Linked DNA regions of Homo sapiens: region 2 is linked to region 1. Evidence: promoter capture Hi-C in 16 types of primary human blood cells and fetal thymus (Javierre and others, 2016). All regions are on one chromosome and are shown on one strand. The core of a region is centred on a gene start or on the middle of the fragment in contact, and the rest is flanking DNA. Distances in the headings are between cores, read along the strand shown.

What was found. Contacts are between HindIII fragments. The CHiCAGO score rates a contact against its expected background, and 5 or more counts as called.
Region 2: a contact is called between a fragment that was not itself captured here and the fragment with the promoter of FBLN7 in region 1, in 7 of 17 cell types (M1 macrophages, naive CD4 T cells, endothelial precursors and 4 more). The highest score is 7.1, in M1 macrophages.

Annotation. Positions count from the first base shown.
Region 1 is chr2:112,136,799-112,140,264 of GRCh38, reverse strand. It overlaps FBLN7 (fibulin 7), which reads right to left and starts at 1,880. Exons shown (of 8, transcript NM_153214.3): 1 at 1,535-1,880. The coding sequence starts at 1,609. RefSeq lists an enhancer at 1-63. The HindIII fragment of the contact is 8,502 bases long and covers 1-2,201 here.
Region 2 is chr2:112,449,266-112,452,675 of GRCh38, reverse strand. No RefSeq gene overlaps it. Among named protein-coding and RNA genes, the nearest start is that of RGPD8, 17 kb to the right of the region's middle. The HindIII fragment of the contact is 707 bases long and covers 961-1,667 here.

The DNA.
Region 1 (3,466 bases), core at 631-3,130:
CGGGAGGGACACTGGCGTGGAGAGAGGCGCGCGGGACAGGGGAGAGAGGCGGGAGGGACACTGGCCTGGAGAGAGGCGGGAGGGACGCTGGCCTGGAGAGAGGCGGGAGGGACACTGGCGTGGAGAGAGGCGGGAGGGACACTGGCGTGGAGAGAGGCGGGAGGGACGCTGGCGTGGAGAGAGGCGGGAGGGACGCTGGCGTGGAGAGAGGCGGGAGGGACGCTGGCCTGGAGAGAGGCGGGAGGGACGCTGACCTGGAGAGAGGCGGGAGGGACGCTGGCCTGGAGAGAGGCGGGAGGGACACTGGCGTGGAGAGAGGCGGGAGGGACACTGGCATGGAGAGAGGCGCGCGGGACAGGGGAGAGAGGCGGGAGGGACACTGGCCTGGAGAGAGGCGGGAGGGACACTGGCGTGGAGAGAGGCGGGAGGGACACTGGCCTGGAGAGAGGCGGGAGGGACACTGGCCTGGAGAGAGGCGGGAGGGACACTGGCGTGGAGAGAGGCGGGAGGGACACTGACCTGGAGAGAGGCGGGAGGGACACTGGCGTGGAGAGAGGCGGGAGGGACGCTGGCCTGGAGAGAGGCGGGAGGGACGCTGACCTGGAGAGAGGCGGGAGGGACGCTGGCCTGGAGAGAGGCGGGAGGGACACTAGCCTGGAGAGAGGCGGGAGGGACACTGGCGTGGAGAGAGGCGGGAGGGACGCTGGCCTGGAGAGAGGCGGGAGGGACGCTGACCTGGAGAGAGGCGGGAGGGACGCTGGCCTGGAGAGAGGCGGGAGGGACACTAGCCTGGAGAGAGGCGGGAGGGACACTGACCTGGAGAGAGGCGTGAGGGACACTGGCCTGGAGAGAGGCGGGAGGGACACTGGCCTGGAGAGAGGCGGGAGGGACACTGACCTGGAGAGAGGCGGGAGGGACACTGGCGTGGAGAGAGGCGGGAGGGACGCTGGCCTGGAGAGAGGCGGGAGGGACGCTGACCTGGAGAGAGGCGGGAGGGACGCTGGCCTGGAGAGAGGCGGGAGGGACACTGACCTGGAGAGAGGCGTGAAGGACACTGGCCTGGAGAGAGGCGGGAGGGACACTGGCCTGGAGAGAGGCGGGAGGGACACTGGCGTGGAGAGAGGCGGGAGGGACACTGGCTGGCCTGGAGAGAGGCGGGAGGGACACTGGCCTGGAGAGAGGCGGGAGGGACGCTGACCTGGAGAGAGGCGGGAGGGACGCTGGCCTGGAGAGAGGCGGGAGGGACGCTGACCTGGAGAGAGGCGGGAGGGACGCTGGCCTGGAGAGAGGCGGGAGGGACGCTGGCCTGGAGAGAGGCGGGAGGGACACTGGCGTGGAGAGAGGCGCGCGGGACAGGGGACAGAGGCGGGAGGGACACTGACCTGGAGAGAGGCGGGAGGGACAGGGGAGAGAGGCGGGAGGGACAGGGGAGAGAGGCGGGAGGGACGCTGGCCTGGAGAGAGGCGGGAGGGACACTGGCCTGGAGAGAGGCGGGAGGGACACTGGCCTGGAGAGAGGCGGGAGGGACACTGACCTGGGAAGCCCGCGGCTCGGGGCAGGCGAGGATCAGGAGCAGAAGGAAGAGCGCGCGCGGAGAGCTGGGCACCATCTTGCCAGTCGGAATCCCGCTGCCTGGGAGGGGAAATAACTTTGCCTCCGCTGCCGAGTTTGTCCCAGCGATGCGGCAGCCGTCCCTGCAGGGTGCGGGGCGCCGCGCGGCCGGGGGGCGGCTGGGGCAGGGGGGGAGGCGGGAGGCCCCGAGCGCAGCGCGTCCCGCGGGGATCGGCGCCGCCCGGGCCTTGCGAGGGTCCAGGTGCGCCCGCAGCTGCCCGCACGAGACAGTCCGCGCGAGGCGGGGAGGCGCCGGCCCCTGGGCTAAGGACGAGGGAGGAGGGGCTGCCCGGCCGGGAATGCGCCCGGGAGCGCGCCCAACCCGCGACGCCGAGGACGAGCGCGGGCATCCTCGGGGCCTGGCAGGGATGGGCGGCCAGTGCCCCGCATATGTGCGGGTGACTGGAAGCCCACCCTGGGCGGGTTCACTCCCGACCGTCCTATTTCCCAACCAAGTAGACTGAGGCTCAGTCACCAAGGACAAGTGGCAGAACAGAAACCCAAACCCAGGTCTGTCCTACTTCAAAGCCCACGCGACACCCTCCTCCCGACATTCCTAGAAGGGGGCCAGGAAATGGGCTTCATAAGCTTGACGTGGGGTGGACTGAGCTCTCCATCCGAATAAACTAGTGTCCCTTTAAATAATGCAATGGGGCCGTGAGAACACGCACGCACAGTGAGTAGATACACACACAGTGATACAGTGAGGGGATCTACGTCCTTCTGATTCACTGTCCTCCTTGCTCAAGGGAAGGAGAAACTCAGTTTAAATCGGAGGTCAGGTTCTAGAACATTGCCTGCCTTGCTGAAGTCGAATCAGGAAGTGCCAGGCCGGCATGAGCAGTCTGAAGTCCCCTGCCATCAGGGCTGTGGTACAACCAGATGCCTCAGACCTGAGCTCCCGGAAGGCATGACTGACGTTCTTCCTGGAAGGTTTTCTGAAGGCAGTCACTGCAGATGTCCTGGGACACACAAGTCTGGTCAAGCCCCAGATCTCTTTTTCCTCTTCCACATTTCACTTTGTTGAGCCCACTCAGAGCTCAGGGAACGGGGAGCCCACAAGACTGTGACCACAGAGCAGGAGCTGTTTCCCAGCAGAGGCCAGAAAGGAAAGCTGGAGTCCTGGCTTAGTCCCTTCAAACTGCTATAGCAAAATACCATAAACTGAGTGGCTTATAAACAATAGAACGTGTTTCTCACAGTTCTGGAGACTGGGAGGTCCAAGATCAAGGTGTCAATAGATTAGGTGTTTGGCGAGGGCCAGAGTTCTGGTTCCCGTGTCCTCACAGGGGAAAGGCAGCTCTCTGGGGCCTCTTTTCTGAGGGCACTAATCCCAATTTTGAGGGCTCTGCACTCATGACCTAGTCACCTCCCAAAGGTCCCACCTCCTAATGCCATCATCTTGGGAATGAGGTTTCCAACATATAAATTTAGGGGAGACACCAACATTCAGAACCTAGCCAGTGCCCCAAAAAGCAGGGGACATGGTTTAGGCTGGCCTCCTGGGCATTGGTTGCCCAGGAAATCCTACAGTGCTGCTCCCCCAACCTTCCCATGCAAAGGAGGTGGAACGGGACCCATGTAAATCTTTTTTTTCTTTGAGACGGCGTCTTGCTCTGTTGCCTAGGCTGGAGTGCAGTGGCCTGATCTCAGCTCACTGCAGCCTTGCCTCCCTGGTTCAAGTAATTCTCCTGCCTCAGCCTCCCAAGCAGCTGGGGCTACAGGCATGCACCACCACGCCTAGCTAATTTTTGTATTTTTAGTAGAGACAGGTTTTCACCATGTTGGCCAGGCTTGTCTTGAACTCCTGACCTCAAATGACCCACCCGCCTCAGCCTCCCAAAGTGCTGGGATT
Region 2 (3,410 bases), core at 65-2,564, 310 kb before region 1:
CTATACCTATGTTCCAGCCCATGGTATGAGAGAAAAATGGGGGAGAGAAACAAAATCCTTTTTAAGGGCATAACCCCAAAGTCACATGACTTTATTCCATATGTGTGCCTTTAGTCAGAATGTAGTCACACTACCAATCTAGCTAAAAAGGAGTCCAGAGAACGTAATCTCTGACAGGTTGGCCTATTCTTAGATAAAACTAATGGGAAGAAGAGAAATGGACACAGGAAGTTGGTAATGAGCCTTCAAGATGGCCCCCAATAATCCCTGACACCTAGTATTTACAATCTTGTGTAGTCCCCTCCCATGTTACACTAAGTTTAATCTGTGTGTCCAACATCATAGGCAAGAGTGATAGCATGTCACGTCTGAGAATAGATTACAAAAAGACGACAGCCAGTCTTGAGATCTCTCTCTGACCACTTGCTCTGGGGGAAGCCAGTTGCTATGTTGTGAGGTAGCCCTGTGGAGAAACCTATATGGAAAGAACTGAGTGTCTGGCCTCCCAACAACCATACAGTGAGCTTGGAAGTGGATTCTCCAGCCTCAGTCAGGCCTTGAGATGTTGCAGCTCAGGCGGATAGCTTGACTACACCCTCGTGAGACACTCTGAGCCAGAACCACCCAGCTAAGCTGCAGGTGGATTCCTGATCCTCAGAAACTGAGGTAATAAATGCTTGTTATTTTAAGCTGCTATGTTTGAGGGTAATTATTACACACTCTGTTGCTGCATAACGAATTGCTCCAGAGCTTAGTGGCTTAAAACCCCTACGTTTATTAGCTCATAGATTCTTTGAGTCAGGAATCTGGACATAACGTAGCTGGATCCTTGGGCTCTGGTTGCAGTCAAGGTGTCAGCAGGGCTGCAGTTACCTTCAGGCTTGATTAGGGATAGATCAGCTTCCAAGCACTCTCACATGGTTGTTGGCCAGTTTCTACATGGGTTATTAGACTAAAGCTTCAATTCCTCAAAAGCTGTTGGCTGGAAGCCTCTCTTGGTTCCTTACTACATAGGCTTTTCCATTGGGCAGTTTACAACATGCCTGCTGGCCTCACTACAGTGAGCAAGAAAGAGGGTAAGAGATGGTAAGCAAGAAAAAAGCCACAGTCTTTTGTAACTTAATCTTTGAAGTAATATTGTCAGAGGTGTTTGAACCAGAGCGACTCCATATTGAATAGGGGCTGGGTAAAATTAGGCTGAGACCTATTGGGGTGCATTCCCAGGAGGTTAGGCATTCTTAGTCATAGGATGACATAGGAGATCAGCACAAAGTACAAAGACCTTGCTGATAAAACAGTTTGCAGTAAAGAAGCCAGCCAAAACCTACCAAACCCAAGATGGCAATGAAAGTGACCTCTGGTCATTCTCACTGCTCGTTATCCACGAATTATAATGCGTTAGCATGCTAGAAGACATTCCCATCAGTGCCATGACAGTTTACAAATGCCTTAGCAATGTCTGGAAGTTACCCTGCATGGTCTAAAAAGGGGAGGAAACCTCAGTTCTGGGAATTGTCCTCCCCTTTCCTGGAAAACTCATGAATAATCCACCCCTTGTTTAGCATATAATCAAGAAAGAACCGTAAGTGTTCTTAGTCGAGCAGCCCACACCACTGCTCTGCCTATGGAGTAGCCATTCTTTTATTCCTTTACTTTCTTAATAAGCTTGCTGTCACTTTACTCTATGAATTCACTTTGAACTCTTTTTTTGTGTGAGATCCAAGAACCTTCTCTTGGGGTCTGGATCGGGACCCCTTTCCAGTAATAATATTCCATCACTTTTTCCATATTCTATTCATGAAAAGCAAGCAACAGGTCCAGGCCACACTTAAGGGGAGGGGATTACACAAGAGGTTGAATACCAGGAAGTGGAGATCACTGGAGACCATCCTAGGAAGCTGCCTACCATAGTCTGCTCTCTGGTCCCCAGTGATTCACATCCCTCCCTCATGGCAAATACATCTACAACTCTCCAAGAGTCCCCAGAGCCTCACCTCATAACATCAGCTCTAAGTCCAGAATCCCATCATCTAAATCAGGTCCAGGTATGGTTGAGATACATCAGGTGTAGTTCCCCAAGTACAGCTCCTTAAGCACAGTTCCAATTGATCTGTGGATTTCTGAAGCTAAAGAGACGAGATACCTGCCCACCTCCCACACCCAATGTATTAGTCTGTTCTCATGCTGCTAATAAAGACATACCTGAGACTGGGTAATTTACAAAGGAAAGACGTTTAATTGACTCACAGTTCCACAGGGCTGGGGAGGCCTTACAATCATGGTGGAAGGCAAGCGGGGGGAGTAAATCCACGTCTTAAATGGTGACAGACAAAGAGAGAATGAGAGCCAAGTGAAAGGGGAAACCCGTTATAAAACCGTCAGATCTCATGTGACTTATTCACTACCACCAGAACAGCATAGGGGAAATTGCCCCCATGATTCAATTATCTCCCACTGGGTCCCTCTCACAACATATAGGTATTACGGGAGCTACAATTCAAGACAAGATTTGCTTGGGAAAATAGCCAAACCATATCACCCAATATACGATGGTGGGACAGGCACAAGATAATCTCTACACACAAAAAAGGGGCAAATAGGAGGCACACAGGTGTTACTGGTCCATAGCAATTCTGAAATCCAAATTTTAGAACTCAGTCTCATTCCTGCTAAAAATAATTCTCCATGGCTCTTGGCTCCATCCTCTGGACTCCTTATTTTTGCCCTCTGAATCATCCTTTTTTTTTGGAGACACAGTCTCACTCTGTCACCCAGGCTGGAGTGTAGTGGCGCAATCTCGGGCTCACTGCAACCTCCACCTCCCGGGTTCGAGTGATTCTCCTGCCTCAGCATCCCGAGTAGCTGGGACTACAGGCTCCCACCACCATGCCTGGGTGATTTTTGTATTTTTAGTAGAGACGGGGTTTCACCATGTTGGCCAGGCTGGTCTTGAGCTCTTGACCTCAAGCGATCTGCCCTCTTCAGCCTCCCAAAGTGCTGGGATTACAGGTGTGAGCCACTGTGCCCGGACTTTTTTTTTTTTTTTTTAAAGAAAAGGTAGCATCTGTTTTCTCAGCCTGCTTCCTGCTAGAATTTTGGAGGTCCAACAATTCCTTTTTATGTTGTACTGGGTCTGCCTTTTCCACTCCAAACTGACACACAGATTTCTCAGGAAATTTGTGGGTCTTTTTGTTTGCTTGCATAATGTGTTAACTACATTAGACGAAACCCTACAAATCTCTCTGGATAAACCCTTCACTATCTTGAGCTTCTGCTGAGAGGCTGAGGAAAAATACTCTTAAGCTCCCTAGAGGTTTAATTGTTTGAGACAATCTGAGAGCAACACCTTTAATCTCTTTAAAGGGACCTTTGTGTGACTGAATATGACTGTGATCCTTTGGTCTCTCTGA